4 separate regions of the Homo sapiens genome follow, and all the other regions are linked to region 1. Evidence: promoter capture Hi-C in human tissues and cell types (Jung and others, 2019). All regions are on one chromosome and are shown on one strand. The core of a region is centred on a gene start or on the middle of the fragment in contact, and the rest is flanking DNA. Distances in the headings are between cores, read along the strand shown. Region 1 holds the start of KCNE2 (potassium voltage-gated channel subfamily E regulatory subunit 2). Region 2 overlaps LOC105372790 (a long non-coding RNA gene). Region 3 overlaps MRPS6 (mitochondrial ribosomal protein S6). Region 4 has its middle 19 kb from the start of MRPS6.

Region 1 (5,306 bases), core at 636-3,135:
CCCATGCCTGCTCCATGACCACAGGAAAAAAACAAATCACAGTGTGTGAAAGCAGCTTCGTTGAAGGACATTATGCTAAGACATTCCAATTATAAGTGGGTTGATTTCAATTTTTTATTCCCAGAATTACTGTTTAACTGACTGATAGACATCAACCATATTTGGAGGCCAGGCACAGTGGTTCACACCTGTAATCCCAGCACTTCGGGAGGCCGAGGTGGGAGGATCGCTTGAACCCAGGAGTTCGAGATCAGCCTGGACAACATAGCGAGACACCACCTCTACAAAACATAAAAAAATAGCTGGATGTGATGGCACACTCCTATAGTCCCAGCTACTCAGGAGGCTGAGGTGGGAGGATAGCTTGAACCTGGGAGGTCAAGGCTGCAGTAAGCCATGATCACACCACTGCACTCAGCAGTGACAGTGAGACCCTGTCTCAAAAATCAAATCGAAACAAACCATATTTGGTATACATACTTATCCTACCCCTAAGTAGAATATCATAATAGGCATTTACTTTAGTAATGCTAAGACAACTACCATTTATGTTCTCTGGAATTATATGAAATAGCCATTTATATAGGTTAGAAATGGTCAAATATGGGCAATTCATGTGTATCAACCTAGGAGGACCTACATTTCCAGTGAATGCTTCTTGCTGAGTCCTAGCACAGGCTGGGCCCCTGGAGATCATTTAGGCTGGTTTGCTCTCTGATAGGTGGAATAACTATAGCCTAGAGGGCTTAAGTCACCTGTCCAAGATCACAAGCCTCTCAAGTTGGCCACAGTGCCTGGACTAGAACTCACATCACCCAAGCCAGTGTCCAGCACTGACTGTCCTAGCAGAGGTCACACATTCCAATAACTCACTGTTTTCATTGCTGTGACCAGTTGGCTCAACTGGGTACAAGACATAAGATCAAGACCATGATTTGAGCTTACACATGTCATTAGTTGTGCCCTGTCTCCAGGCTACAGAATGATCCCCTAATTCCAGCCATTCCTGTCATGAATGTGTGTTATTCATGACAACAGCAATCAGGACACTATTAGGAAAGTAACACTCATTTGACCCCAAAGTCCAGAGTTTTCTTTTCTTTCTTTTTTTTTTTTTTGAGATGGAGTCTCACTCTGTCGCCCAGGCTGGAGTGCAGTGGCGTGATCTCGGCTCACTGCAAGCTCCACCTCCCGGGTTCATGCCGTTCTCCTGCCTCAGCTTCCTGAGTAGCTGGGACTACAGGCGCCAGCCACCACGCCAGGCTAATTTTTTTTGTATTTTTAGTAGAGATGGGGTTTCACTATGTTGGCCAGGCTGGTCTCGATCTCCTGACCTCAGGTGATCCGCCTGCCTCAGCCTCTCAAAGTGCTGGGATTACAGGCGTGAGCCACCGCGCCCAGCCCCAAAGTTTTCTTTTCTTGAAACATGGTAGATCGCTCACATCACCTGGGCCTATAAAAGGCAGCAAAGTCTTTCATTTTTATATCAAGAAGAGAAAACAATATGATTACCTACGTTTACCATGAATCCTCCATTTTAAAAACTCTCAAAATTTTCATTCTAAGGCAATTAACAAAGAAATGAGTAAGGAAAACACAAGAAGGAAAGAAGGAAGAGTGGATGAGGAGCCAGGCCATGTACCAGGAAAATCATTCCTTTTATCATTTTCTGGAAAAGGCACATAGATAACTTTGTTACTTAATTCCTCAAAAAATAAAGAATGTGTGCTAAGACTTACCTATGCAGTGTGTGGGCAGGATGAAATTCCTTTCCAAAGCCAGGCTGTTCTGAACCTTCTTGCTGGCGTTAGCGAGCTCTCTTCTGGGTTGCACACAAGCCTCAGCCTGCTGGGCACCTTCACCTTACAACCATCTAAGCCCTTGCAACTGCAGTCTGCAATCCTATGCTTTTATGAACCCACATGTTTAATCTAATCGTATGTGGAAAGTTAAATACTAACTGGCAGTTGGAATTCACCTTGGTGCCTGATGGGGTGTGTGCCTCAGGGACTCTGGCTTTGGGCAGAGTGGCACAAGTTCCTGCTCTGGGACCCTTCCTGCCAGCTCCAGCCAGGGCAGGGCCTGGGTACAGTGAACATCTTTCCCCAGAAGAAGTCTTCCTCTTAGGGTAGGCTTGGGGGACAACAGCATTCCCTGCCAGAATACGTGGGAAGGGCTGGGTGGGGTGGCTCACGCCTGTAATCCCAGCACTTTGGGAGGCTGAGGCGGGCAGATCACCTGAGATCAGGAGTTCAAGACCAGCCTTGCCAACATGGTGAAACCCCGTCTCTACTTAAAAATGTAAAAATTAGCCAGGTGTGGTGGCACACACCTGTAGTCCCTGCTACTCTGGAGGCTGAGGCAGGAGAATCACTTGAATCCACAAGGCAGAAGTTACAGTGAGCTGAAATCATACCACGGCACTCCAGGCTGGGTGACAGAGTGAGACTCTGTCTCAATGAAAGAAGAAAGAAGAAGAGGAAGAGGAAGAGGAAGAAGGAAGAAGAAGGAAGAAGAAGGAAGAAGAAGGAAGAAGAAGGAAGAAGAAAGAAGAAGAAAGAAGAAGAAGACGATGTGGGAAGGACAGGGCCCCAGGGAGAGGAGCCAAGAACAGCCATCTCTGGGTGGTTGGTATGGGTTGAGGGGGTCAGTATAATTCCAGGCAAGTGCCGTGTTCTGAAGACGCTAAATAAGCTAGATTCTGGTAAATACTCCTCCACGGGACCACATCCAAATGAGTTTATAACAACATTGTTGTCTTGTAAAAGAGAAACGGGCTGCAAGGGTACTAAGGTACTACATGGAGGAGCTGGAAGTTAAGTCCAACAAAGAGGTTTTGAGGTTTTTGTTTGTTGTTGTTGTTTTGAAACAGAGTCTTACTCTGTCACCCAGGCTGGAGTGCAGTGGCGCAATCATAGCTCACTACAGCTTTGAACTCTTGGGCTTGAGGGATCCTCCTGCCTCAGCCTCCCAAGTAATGGGACTACAAGTGTGTACAAAGCCTGGTTAATTTTTATTTTTATTTTTGTAGAAATAGGGTCTTGCTGTGTTGCCCAGGCTGGTCTCAAACTCTTGGCCGCAAAGGATCCTCCAGCCTCAGTCTCCTAAGGCGGTGGGATTACAGGTGTGAGCCATGGTGCCTGGCCCCCAGCAAAGTATTTAAAGACCTAGCAAGAGCTAAACATACTCTATTTACCAAAAGATCCTTTTCTATCATGGTGGGGACCCTTGGAATTGGGAGAACTGAGTCTTTATATTGGCTATCATTTAGGAGTGCTTACCATGTGCTTTTATCGTATTAACCTCAGGTAATCATTGCCACAACCTGATGTGGAAGGTACTGTGAACTTAGCCAAGGGAATCAGGGCACAAGAGGTCTGATGACATGGAGGTGGAGCCATTTGGATTTGAATCCAATTTAAATGGCAGCCACGGAAGTTACACTCACTCACTCAAAATCACTTCAAGGTCATGTGGGTGGTCATTACTCTGTAACTTGTCTCATGGTTTTGTAAAAGGAAGGTTCACTTTGTTTTAAAATTGGAGTTTCACATTAAATGGTGCTCTGAACCATGTGGCTTGAAGCACACTGGGTGGCAAGAGGAAGATAGCTAAGATTTAACATGATCTACAAATTATTGCAGAGTTAACGTTATTAGGTGTATTTTAAAGAAATACGAGGATCTCTGTAACTCCGCAAAAGCTTCTCATTAACACCATTTGTCCTCATGGGTTGTCTTCACTGAACAAGATAGGCAAACTCAGCCAGGAGGAACACTTTGGTGGTGTAACTGTGTTCACCATGCCTCTGCAGAAATGGAAGCAAAACGTTCAAGTAAGAATTCCGCTAGGAGACGGTGCCACCTGCTGGTGGGAACAGGGAACTGAGGCCAATCTTCTAACTCAGCCCTTGCGGTTTAACTTCACTCTTGAATTCTGGCGCCGAGGAGAGGGGAATCAAAGCAGCGTGTTGTGCTTTGGTAATTAAAGGCAGAACTGGACGGCGATGTGTCATGGAGGCTGGCAAACCAGGTGAGCAAATTACTTACTGTCCCTGGTCTTTGGATTCTTCGTCTGTAAGATAGAGATAAGAGTTCCTGCTCATTTGGCTTGTTATAAAAGTTAAATGTGATCACAGATATATACAGCACTTAGCACAGAACCTGGCACGAGGTAGGATAGTAAAATCTATAAATTGAAATGCAGCAAAATTCATTTCTTGTTTTAATAAAAGCAAATGTAGAATGTTTTACCCATTCAATGAAAAACTAGGTGGGAAAAAACACTTTAAGAAAAAACTTTTAAACAGAAATCACCAGCCGGACATGGTGGCTCACGCCTGTAATCCCAGAACTTTGGGAGGCCGAGGCGGGTGGATCACCTGAACTCAGCAGTTCGGGACCAGCCTGGCCAAAATGGTGAAACCCAGTCTCTACTAAAAATACAAAAATTAGCCAGGCGTGGTGGCACACGTCCGTAATCCCAGCTACTTGGGAGGCTGAGGCAGGAGAATCGCTTGAACCGGGGAGGCGAAGGTTGCATTGAGCCGAGATGGTGCCACTGCACTCCAGCCTGGCCGACAGAGCGAGACTCTGTCTTAAACAAACAAACAAAACCCAGAAATCACCAAATAAGGTGGTAGAAAGATATCTGCTGTGGCATAAATGTTTGTGTCCCCCCAAAATTCATATAGTGAAATTCTAACTCCCCATGTGATATTACTAAAAGGTAGGGCTTTTGGGAGGTGGTTAGGCCAAGAGGATGGAGACCCCGTGAATGCGATTAATGCCCTTTTAAAAGAGGCTACAGGGAGGTTGCCTTCCCCTTTCCACCATGTGAGGTCGCAGCTAGAAGGCACGGTCTATGAATCAAAGAGGGAGACCTCACCAGACACCGCATCTGCCAGTGCCTTGGTCTTGGACCTGCCAGCCTCCAAACTATGAGCAATAACTTTTTGTTATTTATAAGTCATCCAGTTTATAATTTTTACTATAACTGCCCCAATGACTAAGATAATATCTGAATATATCTATAATCACAATATCCTTTAAAATAAGTACCTATTAAAAGAAGTATTATTAAACTGAATAACAAAATAAAATCTAGCTATATGCTTCTTAAAAGATAAACATCTAGGCTGGGGCTGGTGGCTCACACCTGTAATCCCAGCACTTCGGGAGGGCGAGACGGGCGGATCACTTGAACCCAAGAGTTCGAGACCACCCTGGCCAACATGGCGAAACCTCATCTCTACTAAAAATATAAAAATCAGCCAGGCATGGTGGCATATGCCTGTAATCCCAGCT
Region 2 (5,209 bases), core at 133-2,632, 360 kb after region 1:
GCTCACTGCAGCCAAGATCGGATCAATTGATTCCCCTGCCTTAGCCTCCTGAGTAGCTGAGATTACAGGTGCCCACCACCACACTCACTGCAACCTCCGCCTCCCGGGTTCAAGCAATTCTCCTGCCTCAGCCTCCCGAGTAGCTGGGATTACAGGTGATGCCTGGCGAATTTTTGTATTTGTGGGTAGAGATGGGAGTTTCACCATGTTGGCCAGGCTGGTCTCGAACTCCTGACCTCAGGTGATCCACCCGCCTCAGCCTCCCAAAGTGCTGAGATTACAGGCGTAAGCCACCATGCCCAGCCAAAAAAATGTTTCTTCTTTGGTCAATACACAGAAGCCCCTCAATACCTCTGCTTGTGTTAAACTCTTGGGGGACATCTGAAGCACATCTTGCACTTTTATTCCGGGTGCTCTTTTCCAAGGAGGGAAAGGTCATTTGAAGAACAAATCACTCGCCTGTCTCAGCCAGGGTCCCTGAGGAGATCCAGCCAGTGTTTTTCAGAGCCTGGCACTCTGCCCAGGGCTTAGAGGCACCTTTTGACTTGGTGCTCTGGACAAGATTTGACAATCTGGGCCAAATCTGGAATGGGTTTCCGAAAGCCAATATTGGAGCACTTGCGATTGAGACCTGCCAAATAATGTGTCAGGAATGTCCAGTTCCTTTCCCATGCAGAGTGGCAGTGTTTAATGAAAAAACACAGCTCCGAAAAATGAGATGTTTTGTGCATTATCCATATTCATTAAAACTGGAACCCAACCCCAGAAAATACAGATGCCTTCTGTCATCAACACCTCACCTTTTTTCCTGTGGTTACTTAATACAAATGTCACAGAAGCTATTCTATAAGGACATGTCACGTGGCAGCATCTGCAGGCCAGTGTCCCTTTTCTTCTTGTCCAGCCTGATGCTAGGCAGTGGGAGGGGAGGTATGGGGGTGGTGAATTAAACAAAATCTTTAAAAACAAGACTCTGGCTCTGACTTCCACTGCACAGATTACCAAGCGGATAGGCATTTTATTTTGCTAAATGAAAGGGCTAGTTTATATCTTCCCTGGATCATTTTCTAACCTAACTGCAGTGGAAACATTCTCAGAAAGAAAGGCTTTCTTGTTTGTTTGCCCTTTATATAGCCGCTGGTCATCCCACTTGGAGAATTTGGGCAGTAACCTGCTGCTTCTGCTTGGGGCCAGGCCAGCTAGCAAACTCTTCTATGAGTTGGCCAACACAGCGTTTTGTCAGATGATCACAGCCAGCTCAGAAGCCCTCAGTGGCACCATGTTGAAAGGTAGACCACATTTCAAGCCCATCTTTGGTGGATGGAAATGGCTCATCTCACTGGCTCCTCTAGGCAGGGAACCACATCTGACCCAAATTGTCTACATTCCACAGACTGGTCTTTTTGTATGTTTGGGGTTTTGTTCTTTCTGTCAAGCATATAGCAGGAATTTTCCTCTGGAAGGAAGCCATGAAAAGATGGCTTCCCCAAAACGGTAGGAAATCCCTGTAGGATGGTTAATTTTAATGTGTCAACTTGACTGGGCTAAGGGATGCCCAGATAGCTGGTAAAAGATTATTCCTGGGTGTGTCTATGAGGGTGTTTCTGGAAAAGATGAGCGTTTGAATTGGTCGGCTGAGCAAAGAAGAGAGCCCTCAGCAGTGTGTGTAGGCCTCATCCCATCCATTGAGGGCCTGAATAGAACACAATGGCAGAGGAAGGGTGAATTTGTTTTCTCATCTTCAACTGGGACATTCATTTTTTCCTGCCCTTGAACTTTGGAGCTCCTGGTTCTCGAGCCTTTAGAGTCTGGAACTGACGCCAGTATCCTCCCACCACCTCCATTCCCAGGACTGAATTACACCACCAGCTTTCCTGGGTCTCCAGCTTTCAGATGGTAGATCAGATTGTGGGACTTCTCAGCCTCCATAATAATGTGAGCCAATTCTGGCGATGGATTGACTGACTGATTGACAGACAGAGAGACAGATAGATAGAGAATGGATAGACAGATAAATAGTTGATGGATGACAGATGATAGATTGATAGTTAATAAATAGATGATTAATAGATAAATAGATGATAGATAGATAATAGATGGCAAACAAATAGTTGATAGATGAGAGATGATAGTTGATAAATAGATGATGAATAGATAGATAGATGATAGATTAGATGATAGATAGATAGATAGATAGATAGATAGATAGATGATAGATAGATAGATGATAGATAGATAGATAGATAGATAGGAGAGAGAGAGAGAGATGACAGGCAGATAGATCCTATTAGTTCTGTTTCTCTGGAAACCCCTGATTAATACACCCTGCAACTGGTCCCTAGTAAGATCTTCTCTTGCAACCAAACCCCACAGTTTGCTTCTCACAAAATAAAGATAAGGCGATGGGGCTTAGCCAGCGTCCGCCTCTCCTGAGATCTGACAAAGCCCGAGCGCTAATTTTCCCCCTTTCCTCACTTTCTCCTTCCTCCCCTGGCTGCCATTTTGTGGCAGAAGCAGACCTACACTGCAAAGCATTTGAATCTCAGTTCTTCTTCTAAACCAGTTAGCAAGTTTCTAAGCCATTCTGGGCCTCCTTTCCTCAGTTGATGAAACAGTCATGGAGAATACTTCAAAGCATTTAGGGGTGAATTCAGTGAGACGAAGAACAAGAAGGGACCTGAAAGGATGGCAGCTCTCCCTTTTGGTTGTGTCTTTTTTCTTTGACAAGGGGAATCACTCGGGGATGGGAAGGAAGCGGCGTTGCTCACATGGAACTCAGAAAATCTCTTCATTAGTGAAATTTGAGGCTGTTCTCATTCTAGCCACAGCTGTAGTGATGCTGAAGTCATTTGTCTCAGAGGTCTGCCTCTCCCACTCTGAGCGCTGCACAGCCCTTCCAGGCAGTGGCTTTCAGGACAAAGACGATGAAACCATTTTCTGCGTAGTGAAACACAGACATGGTTCTCCCTTAAGTGATCTAATCTCACAGGGACATTCTTTATGTACATTTTGAATGTAAATGAAAAGTAACCTTTAAAATCATCATGTTAGGGTTTCACAGATGGGACTTTAAGCAGTCCATGATACCCCTGGGAACTGCATGAGTGTTCGTGGGTCTTGGTTATATAGTAAACTTCCAAAGACAGCCTCTACAGATGCATTGTTCAGTCAATACATAATGTGAGCCACATAGTTCATTTAAAGTTCTCTGGTAGCCACATTTAAAAATTAACAAAATTAGGCTAGGCCTGCTGTAATCCCAACATTCTGGGAGGCCGAGGTGGGAGGATCGCTTGAGCCCAGAAATTCAAGACCAGCCTGGGCAACATGGCGAAACTCCATCTCTCCAAAAAAATACACACAAAAAATAAACTTAGCCGGGTTCGGTTGCACACACCTGTGGTCCCAGCTACCTAGGAGGCTTAGGTGGGAGGATCTCTTCAGCTCAGGAGGTTGAGGTTGCAGTGAGCCAGGATCACGCCACTGCACTTCAGCCTAGGCCACAGAGTAAGACCTAGTCTCCAAAAAAAAAAATTACTTTAAGTAATATATTCAATTTAACCCAAAAGATCAAAAATATATTCAATATAAGAGATTTACTTTTTTTTTTTTTTTTTTTTTACTAAATTCACAGTTTAGTGTGTATTTTACCCTCACAGCACATCTCAATTCCAGTTAGCCCCATTTCGGCTGCATGTGGCTAGTGGCTACTATGACAAAGAGTGCACGTTTATAGCTTTTGTCAGCTTTTGATAACAAGTAGCATCATGACATTATAGAGGATAGTGAGAGATCATAGTACCAATAACAGTTCAAAAGTCTCCTTAGGAGCTCACAAAAAGCTTTCAGGTAGATTATCTCACTGTATTCTCATTTTTAAAAACTCACAAAGTGGACATGGCAGATGTCATTTCCTCATATGAGAACTGAAAAAAACTAAAGCTTAAAAAAAGTAAATAGGCCAGGTGCAGTGGCTCACACCTGTAATCCCAGGACTTTGGGAGCCCGAGGTGGGAGGATCTCTTGAGCTCAGGAGTTGGAGACCAGCCTGGGCAACATAGCAAGACCTCATCGCTACTAAAAATAAAAATTAAAAAATCAGCTGGGCGTGGTCTTCACACCTATAGTCCCAGATACTCAGGAGGCTGAGGTGAGAGGATTGTATGAGCTCAGGAGTTCGAGACCAGCCTGGGCAACATAAGAGACTCCTTCCTGTCTTTATAACAAATTAAAAAATTAGCCAGGCCTGGTGGTGTCCAGTTGTAGTCCCAGCTACATGGGAGGCTGAGGTGGGAGGGTCACTCGAGCCCGGGAATTCAAGACTGCAATGAGCTGTGATCACACCACTGCACTCCAGCCTGGGCAACAGAGTAAGACCTTGTCTCAAATAAATAAATAAATAATTGGCCTCGAGTCAAACAGCTGGAAGTTGAAGGGCCAGAAACGTCAACTGGGCCTTCGGACTCCAAATCCCCAGTTCTAGCTAGGAAAGGGATGGTCACATCCCACTGTCATCACAATGCTGTGGAAGTGGCCCTTTTTTATATCTTCTGCCAGGTAGTAAGGCCCAAGAGGGCAGGAATTGATCTACATTTTGTTCATTGCTGCATTCCCGGCACCTGACAGTGCCTGGCACAGAGCAGGCACACGATTCCTCCTTGATGAATTAAATTCAACTGAATGAGAAGAATGGGACACAGCAGACACCCCCATAATCAGAATCCAAGTCACTCCATCTCCAGGACCTTTTGGTTAAGCCAAAATCACAAAAGCCACCTTCACACAGAGGTGGCCTTTGTCCATCCTTTGACACTCTCTCCTTTCCCACCAGACACAAAAATATCTGCGCATCTTTTTCAGAGCAAATAACTTTAGCCACGCCTCTGTGTTAATGCTCACTTTGCATTTTTAAGTGGAAATTTACATCTCCAGTGCAAAATAGATCTTGAAAGTAGACTCAGTCTGGAGCAATTTGGATGCCAACCTCTGCCCCTCCTTCCACCCACCCAAGGCCACCTTGGAGGGGCCTATGGACCACCCCAAGAGGCTGTGAAGCTACAACATTAGTACGAGTGAAACATCATATTGCCCCTCCACCTTGCCAGCTGTGTTGGGTTGAATCATGCACATCTGGAAGAGTGGTCAAGTCTGACTAGCGAGATCAGAGGATGGCTTGAGGCTCGGTGGAGGCACAGCCCATTCCCAGCTG
Region 3 (5,469 bases), core at 3-2,502, 270 kb after region 1:
TCCACTCACGGTGCTTCTATTAGATTTCCACATGGCAAAAAAACCAATGCACATGACCAGGATAAAATACAGGGCCACTATGGCAATGTCTGCTGTGTCCAGTACAGCTCTCATTCTGGTAACTTGTGAATAATAGCGCTCCAATGACAGAAGTGTCCAACTTTTTATTTATTTTTAGTAACCCCAGCCAAGTCTGTAAACCATACGTGAACTGGACTACACAGAGCAACACAGCAGGGTCAAAGTCTTTGTCCTTTGGTTTGCTGTCTTGATGGTGGTGGTTGTGATAAACTTTGAAGAAGACAGTTTAAATTTTCCGCTTCTTAATTGGGATTGAGAACTTAGCTCGTACTCTTAATCCACTCTCCACAAGACCATCAGCATTTACTCAGGTGCTGGAGGAGAAATTCTGAGTTGCAGCTAAGTCTAGTGAAGCCTACTGTACCAACCCTGCAAGGCAGCAGAGACAAAAGACAAAGATTGAAGTAGAGGAGGTCTCGCCACGTGATGAGGAAACTTTCAGTCTAGCAAACCCGGCGCAACGAGACATTCTTTATTGGAAGAAAAAAAATTTTTTTAATACACTTCAGTTCCACAGGAAAGAGCAATCTATATGATCACAGCTGATACTTTTGTCAGTGAGAATATTATCATTTTGAGCTGAGGACAGAAATTCATCTACCTCATAACTAAGTGGCCTAACTTCAGCAGCTAACTGCCTACCACAGCATTGCCCTTTCTTGTCTTACTGTGGTATGCTCAGATTAGGACAGGCACTAAGATCTTAAAGCACCCTAAAGGGGAGAAAACACTAATTATATTCGTAATAAGGGCACAAAAATGAAATCTTAAAATACTATGAATCCTAAGAGAGTTTGGGGGTAACTTTATGGCCAGTTAGGGTCCTGGATGGAACAGGCAGGTGGTGTTTACTAGATGTTATCATCTACCCTCAGAAAATTTAAATACAGAAAACCAAGTACTGCCTAGTCTCTGGAAATGTATTGTTATAAAGCTTCTTAAACTCCAGTAAATGGATATAGTTGTCATACAGTAACCTAGATCTTGTGAGACGCCCCCTGCCCTAATGGGAAACACGACATTCCACACAAAACTAAAAATATCCAACTTACAAAACAACTCAAAAATTGTATTATTTCTGCCAGTTAGAAGATGCTGCAAGAAGATAAAAAGCAAACTTTAAAAGAAGCAATTTCCTTCTCTTCCTTTTCATCAGGCAGTATTTCCAAAACAACCTCTGAGAGGATAACGGCACTGACTAAAGGCGTGATTTTATGTTTTCCTTTTAATGCTTTTTGTTGAAGGGTATAAGAAGCAGAGAAAAGAGGGAGGAGGAGAAAAGTTTTCAGAAGACTAAAAAATGATTTATTATTATGTCCGCCAAACCTCAACAAAACAGACATTTGTGGACCATTAGATAAATCTTCAGTAGGACCATCAGGAATTTTTCAGTTCTGGATTAAGATAATCACTCTGCAAAACAGACATTTAAATATACCTAAAATTAAATGTATTAAAATTTGACGGCTTCTCTCCTGAAAAAGAGACAAATACTAAATTTTCAGTTAATTGTAATTGCAGCTGACAGATCAATACGAACAACAATTTTATTCAACCTAATGCCTTCCACACATTAACTTCTAAATGATTTCTCCTTTTCCAATAAGGCAACCTCAGAGAAGAATGTTTTTCCATGCTTTTTCTGATGATTCTAGGCATTTTCCTTTTAAGTCCTATAAATTATACTAAAGCTACCTCTTCTCAAAACCGTTCAAAACAGACCACAGTATTAGAAACTTTACAACACACTTCTCACTGACAAAAGGAGCTAAACATAATGCCTAGAGACTACTGCCCTACAAAATTAGGTTCTTAGGTCTAATGCAGAAAAAACTGCCTGGATAGAAATGTCTCAATCCCATCTGCGTGCCTTTTTAAAGCATTAAGCAATACAATAATTATGCTATGAAAAGTGATTTAAATCCTTTCTAAGTGTCAACGGCTGGCATAAATAAGATTGATTGCCAGAGAAAAGCAAAAAAAAAAAAAAAAATCTTAAAAGTTGAGGTTTGTATCACTTCATACCTGCCAAATCCTGAAGATGATCATATTTCTATGACCACCTTCCCCACCCCCAAAAGCTTCCAAGTTTTTAAACAAATGCTTTGACATTATGTAGGACGAATCATCTAAATTTTTAATAAAATCTAATCAGATGACTAGTAAACATTATTTAAAAAGGTATCGTTAAATGTTTCTGCATAAGGGAAGCTTGTCAATTACAATGAAAACTGCTGTGTCAATTACAATGAAAACTGCTGTTCGCAGTTATGAAACCCTGCCTCCAGGGCTCTCTGCTACCCAACAGCCATCCAAGTCATCCTCAGGCCACTTGTTTCAATTTTCAGAAGGCTACCTGGCTAATCAGGTATCACTCTTCCCAATGGCAGTAGCAACCACGTGCTTTCCAAAGAAGGGAGAGAAAAACACAGTGGGTATTTCTGGTTTCATCTGGCCGTTGGGGGGGAAATAGGGTGGGTTATGTGTCATAGTAGCTGCTGCAGCTTATTTGTTCAGAGAACAAAGTGCTGAAAAAGAAAACAAGCACTTCCTCAATCACTGGGAAGCACTGTTACTATCAGTAACATTGTTCTTCATTGTCAAATCTGATTTATGCAAGGTAAATATAGAAGCTATATTCTGCTGCCTGATGAATGCTCAAACTGCATGAAGTTCTCATGCTAGCCCTAACTCCTAACTTCTCTAGTAAAGTCGCTCTGCCCACAGGAGAGGTACCAAATAGTACCCTAACACTAGCTCAAGGCTGAATTCTCAACTCTCCGCCTAGGCTTCCTCATATCCTTCAAAGCCACTGCGGACAGTTCCCTTCTCACTGGATACCATACCACTCTGTGGGTCGTGTCTAGATTTTTCCAACTTAAACAAAACACATGCAGAGACCAGCACCTGGTAAAGACTGGAAAAGGAAAAACAAAACCAAAAACAGGTCAATTTGGTTTGTAGAAATATATAAAATACTATAATGCAATGCAGCTATATTTTACACTCTAGTCACAGTCACAGCCTTGAATTTCAGTCTTTCAAGAGATAAACTACATTCCTTAAAAATGGTTCTGAATATACAGTATGTTATATATATATATATGTTTTTCTTCCTTTTAAAGAAGTTAACATTTCTTCAACAAAATACAATGAGCACTGTCCAGGGTTCCCTTATTTTTATAAGAATACACATGGAAGAATCTTCAGCTAACATGAGGCTTTTTAACTTGTATTTTTATATTTATATATGCTTTTTGTCACAGTTCATCATTCACGCAAACCTCTCAAGTAAAATTATAAGACAATAAAATAGGTATAGTTATGAAAAGCATGTAGGTGGGTTCCTTGGTAGTCCATTTTTTTCTTAAAAAGCTTCTGTAATGGGAGTAATACTTGTAGAATGCAAAAAGAAACAGTCCCCTAGTGGTGATGAGCAGATTTAGCCAAACCTTGAACACAAAGGTGCTTTGAAACAGAGCAGATTCCCCTTCTTCCCAAAAGAGAAGGCATCCTTCTCAGAAAGTAGTATTTTATTGTTTTGCACAGAATTAGAATGCAGTTTTGGTTCTATTCCACGCATCTGGATAAATTAAATTGCAACTGAAGAATTAATCCAAATAGAGAAGTGTAAATATAAATATTTGCTGCATTTGACCAAATAGAAAGAGAAAAAAAGGTAAGACCAAATTTAAATAAGCACTCCTTCAGGTGATATAACCATGTTAACCAAAATGTAATTAGTTATCATGACCAGATCTCTCTAGTACTGTCTGGGTGACCATATAATTTATCTTCCAAACCAGAAACTTATTCTGGAACTATATGTAAACAGCAGGATATATGGGCACTCTATCAAAAAAATAATAAAATAAAAAACCACCTGCCACTAAAACCAAACAAGGAACAAGAAAAATTATCTCCTATACTCAGGGCTTCAAGTCATAAGTTCAATGACACAGGGCGGGGCCTGCAAAGAGTAGTACGCAATAATCTTAAACGTGACCAAACAACCACCTCTTTTAGCTTTGGAGTCAATTTACAAACCACACACTCAAGGTACAATCTGAGACGCCTAGTCCAGCACTCTGTCAATGGTAAGCTTGATGAGCCCTGCTCATCCTCTGATCCAAATGAAAAATATTCACTTAGCCAGCTAATAATTGAAGGGTTATAGAACACACAGACACCTCTGAAAACTAATTACCTGAATTACAATCACTTTTGTGTAACCTACCAAAAACAAAAAACATGGGCATACCCAAGCTTGTTTTCTCCCCACCCCAACAGACAGATTTCATGATTCTGTAAGAAGGGAGGTGGGTGTAGGTACCACATCTATGTAGGTGGCACGGTACAGAAGAAAACAGCACAGTTTTTAAGGGCTGGGTTCCATGCTCCGTCACTTCCTAACTGTAGGATCTCAGGCAACAACTTCATCTCTATGAGCCTCAACAAGTCTCAACTGTCTGGCTTTTAAAATGAAACCAACTTGCTCCTTATGATTTATAAGGAATAAGTAACAGAGAAAGCTAGTATTGCCCAGTGCAATGGGGAGGTGGCTCAGTAAATGTCAGTTTACTCCCTACAACCTGAATATACTAGAAGTGATATTAGTTCCTTTCAAATTAAACTGTCAACTATGTGCAAGGCATATTAGGATTTTCCCAAGTTATTTATATATAGAAAGATTAGATAAAATAATGCATTAAAGATGCAGCTCTCTCAAACATTTTAGACTCCCAACTGTCTCATCAACTATTAGCTCCTACTTAAATCACTTCAAGTAAAATACAAAAAGAAAAAATGTATATAAAATTCTTAAGACTTTACATACATGCTTTCACTTTTGTCACCTTGACTCAAGTTCTAGGAAAGCAAATTCCTGTGGTGGAATAGACTACTAACGCTTGATGCAGAGTGTATGTGTACTCACATAGGACTGTCCTCAACCCCTGCTTACTTTAAAAATGTGGAGCAAGGATACTGTAGCGGTTCATCAGTAACACAAAGAGCAAAACAGGTTTTCCTAATATAACTGGCCTGAACTCCAGCCAGTTTTAAATTGTAAGTGGAGCTAAAGACAACACTACAGATTAAGTATCCCTAATGCAAAAATACAAAATCTGAAATGCTCCTCCCAAATCCAAAACTTTTTGAGAACTGACATGATGCTCAAAGGAAATGCTCACTGGAGCATTTTGGGTTTGGGATGTTCAGATATGGGATGCTCAGCCACCAAGTAATATGCAATATCCCACAATCCAAAACACTTCTGGTCCCAAGCATTTAAGATACGGGATATTCAACCTGTACCGTAATGTTTTAACCATCCCTAAAATATAAAGAATTTGCCCTTAAATCTTTTTGACAAAACATTTCTATTAA
Region 4 (5,466 bases), core at 2,940-5,439, 310 kb after region 1:
TCTGTAAAACCTCCCCAGATCAATAGATAAGCCAAGAGGAGGAATCGAGTCATAGGGAGCAGGAAGGCCAGGCTGGGGACAGGACAGGGACAGCCCATGCTTGAGGGACAATTGAGAAGAGGAGGTACCTGTCAAATTAGGCTTCAGGGTTTTAAAAGATTGTTATTTGTATTTTGCTATTGTAAGATTACTGTAACCTTACTACGGAAAATTCAGGAAACAAAAAAATGCCCATAATCCCACAATCCAAGCTGAGCCACTGTTGACACTTTAGAGGTTTCTTTCTAAACTTTTATGGATATGTGTTATTTAATCAGACGGTACATATAATTTTATATTCCATTTTTTCATTGATATCTAATCATGAGCTTGTCAATGTTTTTAACTAACATTCATAACTGTTATTTAGACTTGCTGTGTTATATCCTACTCCAGGAAATGCCGGTGTCCATTTAATCTTTCCCCTGCTCTTGGATGTTTCAGGTGACACTTTTTCACTCTTCATTTGTATAGCAAATCCCTAGATGAACATCTTTGTTCTCTGGCTTTTTCTGCATTTAGGAATGCTTCCTTTGCTTGGCCTTCCAAAGCGGAATTTCTTGAAACTGATGGCTTCTTGGGTCCATTGCCAAATGTTTTTTTTCCAAATAGGGCATCAGCAGTGCTGAGCAGGCCTCGGGTTAGAATCAGAGCTAGGGGGCCAGGCTCGGTGGCTCACGCCTGTAATCCCAGCACTTTGGGAGGCCCAGGCAGGAGGATCACCTGAGATCAGGGGTTTGAGACCAGCCTGGCCAATATGGTGAAGCCCTATCTCTACTAAAAATACAAAAAAATTAGCCAGACATGGTGGTGCAGACCTGTAGTCCCAGCTACTCAGGAGGCTGAGTCAGGAGAATTGCTTAAACCTGGGAGGCGGAGGTTGCAGTGAGCTGAAATCACACACTGCAGTCCAGCTTGGGGGACAGAGCGAGACTCCATCTCAAAAAAAAAAAAAAAATCAGAGCTACGGGAAACTGAGGCCAGCAAGGATCCTGTGTTCTCAGTACCCGAAACACTGCAATAAAATTTCTCCAGGGCTAGGCCAGGAGGTCAGAAGATCTAAGAAGTGGAACTAGGGATGATTGGAAATGCCCGAATCATGTGGAATCAGTGCCAAAAGAAAGTAAGTAATGAGTCTAGACATGTAATTGCCGAAGTGCATATGGTGCCTCCAGCTGTACCACCCTGAACAGCTGATTGCTCAAGTGCTATACAGTAAAGACCAAGAGGTGGAAAATTACAGGCAAAGTACAGGTGAAGGCCAGGACCCCAGGCACATATTTTTAAAAGAAGCTCTGGCCGGGCACAGGGCTCACTCCTGTAATCCCAGCACTTTGGGAGGCCGAGGTGGGTGGATTGCCTGAGGTCAGGAGTTCAGGACCAGTCTGGCCAACATAGTGAAACCCTGTCTCTATTAAAAATACAGAAAACTAGCCAGACATGGTGACATGTGCCTGTAATCCCAGCTACTCGGGAGGCTGAGGCAGGGGAATTGCCTGAACCAGGGAGGTGGAGGTTGCAGTGCACCGAGATCACACCACTGCTCTCCAGCCTGGGCAACAGAGCGAGACTCTGTCTCAGAAAAAAAAAAAAAAAAAAAAAAAAGAAGAAGAAGCTCTAATCTCCTGGGTGGTGGCATGGAAAGTTACTCAAAGGCAGAAACCGCCTCATCCCAATGGTTCCTGAAAGCCACCTCACCCTGCACTTCGCCCAGGGAACCATATAAAAAGGGAGTTCCAGCATCCACTTCCTTCTTGGTTCCAAGCTGCCTGCCTCAGCCCATTCCTCCCACCTCATTCTATCTTGGATTTTATTTTTTCAGCTTCCAACCTGGGCATTCTTTCACTATTGCAGGTGAAAATGACAAGGTCCTCTTGCAGCTGCCATTGATTCCCCCAAACCATAACTTGTTCCACCCCCCCAAACCATAACTGGTTCCACTGCCACCAGCTAGCCAGCTTTGGGTCACCTCTGCCGATTCCTTCCATCTGCCCCCAAGACCACTGCTGTGCCCACCCCACAGGGCTCCCTCTCTGAGTGCTCTCCTCCTACTGTCTGGTTTCCAGCACTGCCCAGACCCTGCTGATGTCCAGACCTTCTTCCAGCCCAGACCTGTCTCCTGGCCCCAGGCCCAGGTTTTGGCTGATCATTAGACATTTCTACCTGGGTGTTCCAGGTGTCAGCTGAACCCAGTATCTTGCCTTTAGGCTGCGCCACCTCCAGTCTCATGTCCTGTGAATGGCCCCACCACATACCCAGGCCTTGTACCAGAAATCAGAAAACCTCCTAGAGGTGACCTTATTTCTTACTTCCATCCAGTAGGTCACCAAGGAGCTCTCAAATCCATTCCTTCCTTGCCACCCACCTCACTCCACAGCCCTCAAATGCACTCCCACACGCACTTGTTTACCTGCCTCACTGACCCGGGTCTTCCCTCTTCTACTCTCGGGCTCCCAGAGTGGTCCTTCTCAAACAGCATGTTGATCAGATCACATTTCTGTTTACGTAAAACTCTAACTGCCTCCTGGAACGAGGGGTACTGGGGGTAACATTCCAAATCCATTCATTCATTCACTCATTCAGGAAATATTTACTGAGGGCCTTCCATCTGACAGGCACCACACTAGCACTGGGAACCCACTGGAAAATAAAGCAGACATGGGTAAGTGATGTCCACTGATATCAGGGTCATCTACGAAGGGCTGCACCATGCACACCGAGATTGATCCCTCACCACATCCCAGCTGTATTCTCCACCGTTAAACTCACGACCCTGCAGCTCCCGAAGCATGGTGCTTCCCTACCCAGAACAAGTTGCTTCTCCAGCCCTATTTACGCTTCCCTATTCTTTCTTTGGATAATCACTATTTGTTCTTCCCAACTCAACTGTATTCTCAGCTCCTCTCGAAAGCTTTGCCAACACCCTTCCTCATCCCCCTTCAGATCTACCTGCCCTTCCCCTATGTCACCAGCACCTGTGTTTACCTCCATAATTGTATTGACCACACAGTGTAGTGACACTGTTTACTTGCTTATATTCCCTTTCCCACCCACTTCCTACACACACATACACACACACACACACATTTATGAGCCCCTTAAGATAAGGACCTGGGTGTTTTTATCACCGGTGCCTAAAAACGACTGGTATATGGTCTGTATTTGGTAAACAAACCATGTGAAGATAACACAGATCATTCTTACTTTTGAGTTAATAAAATATTTGTTGACTACATTTATTTATATAGTTCATTATAAATGCAGGTTAATGTCTTGGTCACCTTGGATACATTTAATAAACTTTTCAGAGTAGCATGAAGTTCACTGGGCCAGATTTTTATTGAATGCCAACTATGTGCCAGGCATCATTTTGGCACAGGGAATATGGCAGTGAAAAAATTAAAGTCCCTCTACTCTTAAGGCTTCTATTCTAGTGGGAAAAGGCTGACTGTAAACACATAAATAAGTGGAAATCTCAGAGAGTGATAAATGCTATGAAGAAAACATCATAACGGGAGGAGGAGGCATTCTTGGAGGTGGGAGAGCAGCCTCCACATTAGCTGGAGTGATTTGGGAAGCCCCTCTTTCTTTTTTTTTTTTTTTTTTTTGATATGGAGTCTCACTCTGTCACCCAGGCTGGAGTGCAGTGGCACGATCCCGGCTCACCACAACCTCTGCCTCCCGGGTTCAAGCAATTCTCCTGCCTCAGCCTCCCAAGTAGCTGGGATTACAGGTGCCTGCCACCACGCCCAGCTAATTTTTGCATTTTTTATTAGAAATGGGATTTCACCATCTGGGCCAGGCCAGTCTCGAATTCCTCACCCCAAGTGATCCCCTCACTTCGGCCTCCCAAAGTGCTCCTGACCTCAGGTGATCCGCCCACTTTGGCTTCCCAAAGTGCTGGGATTACAGGCTGGGATTACAGTGAGCCACTGCACCCGGCCTGGGCAGGCCCCCCTTAAGCCCAACTTCCTCATCAGTGAGTTGGGAATGATGACGGTACTGAGGTGCTTGGAGACTTAGGAGGATTACATGAGAAAATATGAATACAGCACCAACACTTAATAAAAATTGTCCTTATTGCAGGGTTTTTGTTCGGTTTTGTTTTGTTTTTGAGACAGAGTCTCGCCCTGTTGCCAGGCTGGAGTGCAGTGACATGATCTCGGCTCACTGCAACCTCCACCTTCCAGGTTCAAGTGATTCTCTTGCCTCAGCCTCCCAAGTAGCTGGGATTACAGGCGCGTGCCACCACGCCCAGCTAATTTTTTTGTATTTTTAGTAGAGAGGGGGTTTCACTGTGTTAGCAAGGATGGTCTCGATCTCCTGACCTCGTGATCCGCCCGCCTTGGCCTCCCAAAGTGCTGGGATTACAGGCGTGAGCCACCATGCCAGGCCTATTGCAGAGTTTTAAGCAAGGAAGAAAGATTATCTAATTTACACTCTTTTTTTTTTTTTTTTGAGACAGAGTCTTGCTCTGTTGCCCAGGCTGGAGTGCAGTGCCACAATCTTAGCTCACTGCAACCTCTGCCTCCTGGGTTCAAGCAGTTCTCCTGCCTGAGCTTCCTGAGTAGCTAGAATTGCAGGCACACACCACCACACCTGGCTAATTTTTTCTATTTTTAGTAGAGACAGGGTTTCACCATGTTGCCCAGGCTGGTCTCAAACTCCTGTCTCCAACTCCTGTCAAGCGCTTCACCCGCTAAGCCTCCCAAAGTGCTGGGATTATAGGCGTGAGCCACTGCGCCTGGCCCCTAATTTACACTCTTAAAGGAGCATGCCAACTGCAGATGGAGAATGAATGGTAGGGGTGGTAGGAGAGGGAGGCCACCCCCGGAGGCTGTGGCGATGGAAAGAAAGATGAAGCTTCTTTCTGTTTCTAGAAGCAGATCTAGTCAAGTATCAGAGATTTACTGACATGTGCCACTGGAAAGGCCAAGTTTAGAAGATAATCTCTTGGACACGAAGAGCACATTTGTGCCTGATGGAATGTGTGAAAACATGCCTGTATTTCCTGCCACACACATGTCCTGCATCAAGTTCTACCATGATCGTCACACCTGGGCCATCGTTCACATCTGCTTCTAAACGACTGGTACAACTGTGTGTCTCTCTTTCTACTGTGCCTGGGCTGTCTCCTTGGGGTTTCGTTTTCATCTCTAAGTCTATTAAATTACTCCTTAAGGTTTCATGAGTATTTCCCCTGCAGTTTCCCAGAGTCCTACAAGCTGCTCAGCCATTGTTATCTTTTGAGACTTTTAAAGCTTTGATTAACTTAATAAATAAAAACACAGTTCTTGAGACAGGGTCTCACTTTGTCACTCAGGCTGGAGTGTAGTGGTGCGATTTAGGCTCGCTGCAACCTCGACCTCCTGGGCTCAAGCAATCCTCCCACCTCAGTCCCCAACCAAGTAGCTGAAACTACAGGCA

The links. Contacts are between HindIII fragments. The study calls those that stand out against the background at their distance.
Region 2: a contact is called between a fragment that was not itself captured here and the fragment with the promoter of KCNE2 in region 1, in 1 of the 25 tissues and cell types used here (IMR-90 fibroblasts).
Region 3: a contact is called between a fragment that was not itself captured here and the fragment with the promoter of KCNE2 in region 1, in 2 of the 25 tissues and cell types used here (dorsolateral prefrontal cortex and mesenchymal stem cells).
Region 4: a contact is called between a fragment that was not itself captured here and the fragment with the promoter of KCNE2 in region 1, in 3 of the 25 tissues and cell types used here (adrenal gland, aorta and dorsolateral prefrontal cortex).

Annotation. Positions count from the first base shown.
Region 1 is chr21:34,360,585-34,365,890 of GRCh38, reverse strand. It overlaps KCNE2 (potassium voltage-gated channel subfamily E regulatory subunit 2), which reads right to left and starts at 1,885. Exons shown (of 2, transcript NM_172201.2): 1 at 1,740-1,885. All of the region lies in intron 2 of LOC105372791 (a long non-coding RNA gene), which reads left to right. The HindIII fragment of the contact is 19,800 bases long and covers 1-5,306 here.
Region 2 is chr21:34,000,539-34,005,747 of GRCh38, reverse strand. The region is part of intron 2 of LOC105372790 (a long non-coding RNA gene); the gene reads right to left. Among named protein-coding and RNA genes, the nearest start is that of MRPS6, 70 kb to the left of the region's middle. The HindIII fragment of the contact is 8,275 bases long and covers 1-5,209 here.
Region 3 is chr21:34,089,844-34,095,312 of GRCh38, reverse strand. The region is part of intron 1 of MRPS6 (mitochondrial ribosomal protein S6); the gene reads right to left. It overlaps SLC5A3 (solute carrier family 5 member 3), which reads right to left. Exons shown (of 2, transcript NM_006933.7): 2 at 1-450. The coding sequence starts at 114. Among named protein-coding and RNA genes, the nearest start is that of SLC5A3, 19 kb to the right of the region's middle. The HindIII fragment of the contact is 6,027 bases long and covers 1-4,265 here.
Region 4 is chr21:34,052,045-34,057,510 of GRCh38, reverse strand. No RefSeq gene overlaps it. Among named protein-coding and RNA genes, the nearest start is that of MRPS6, 19 kb to the left of the region's middle. The HindIII fragment of the contact is 5,440 bases long and covers 1,470-5,466 here.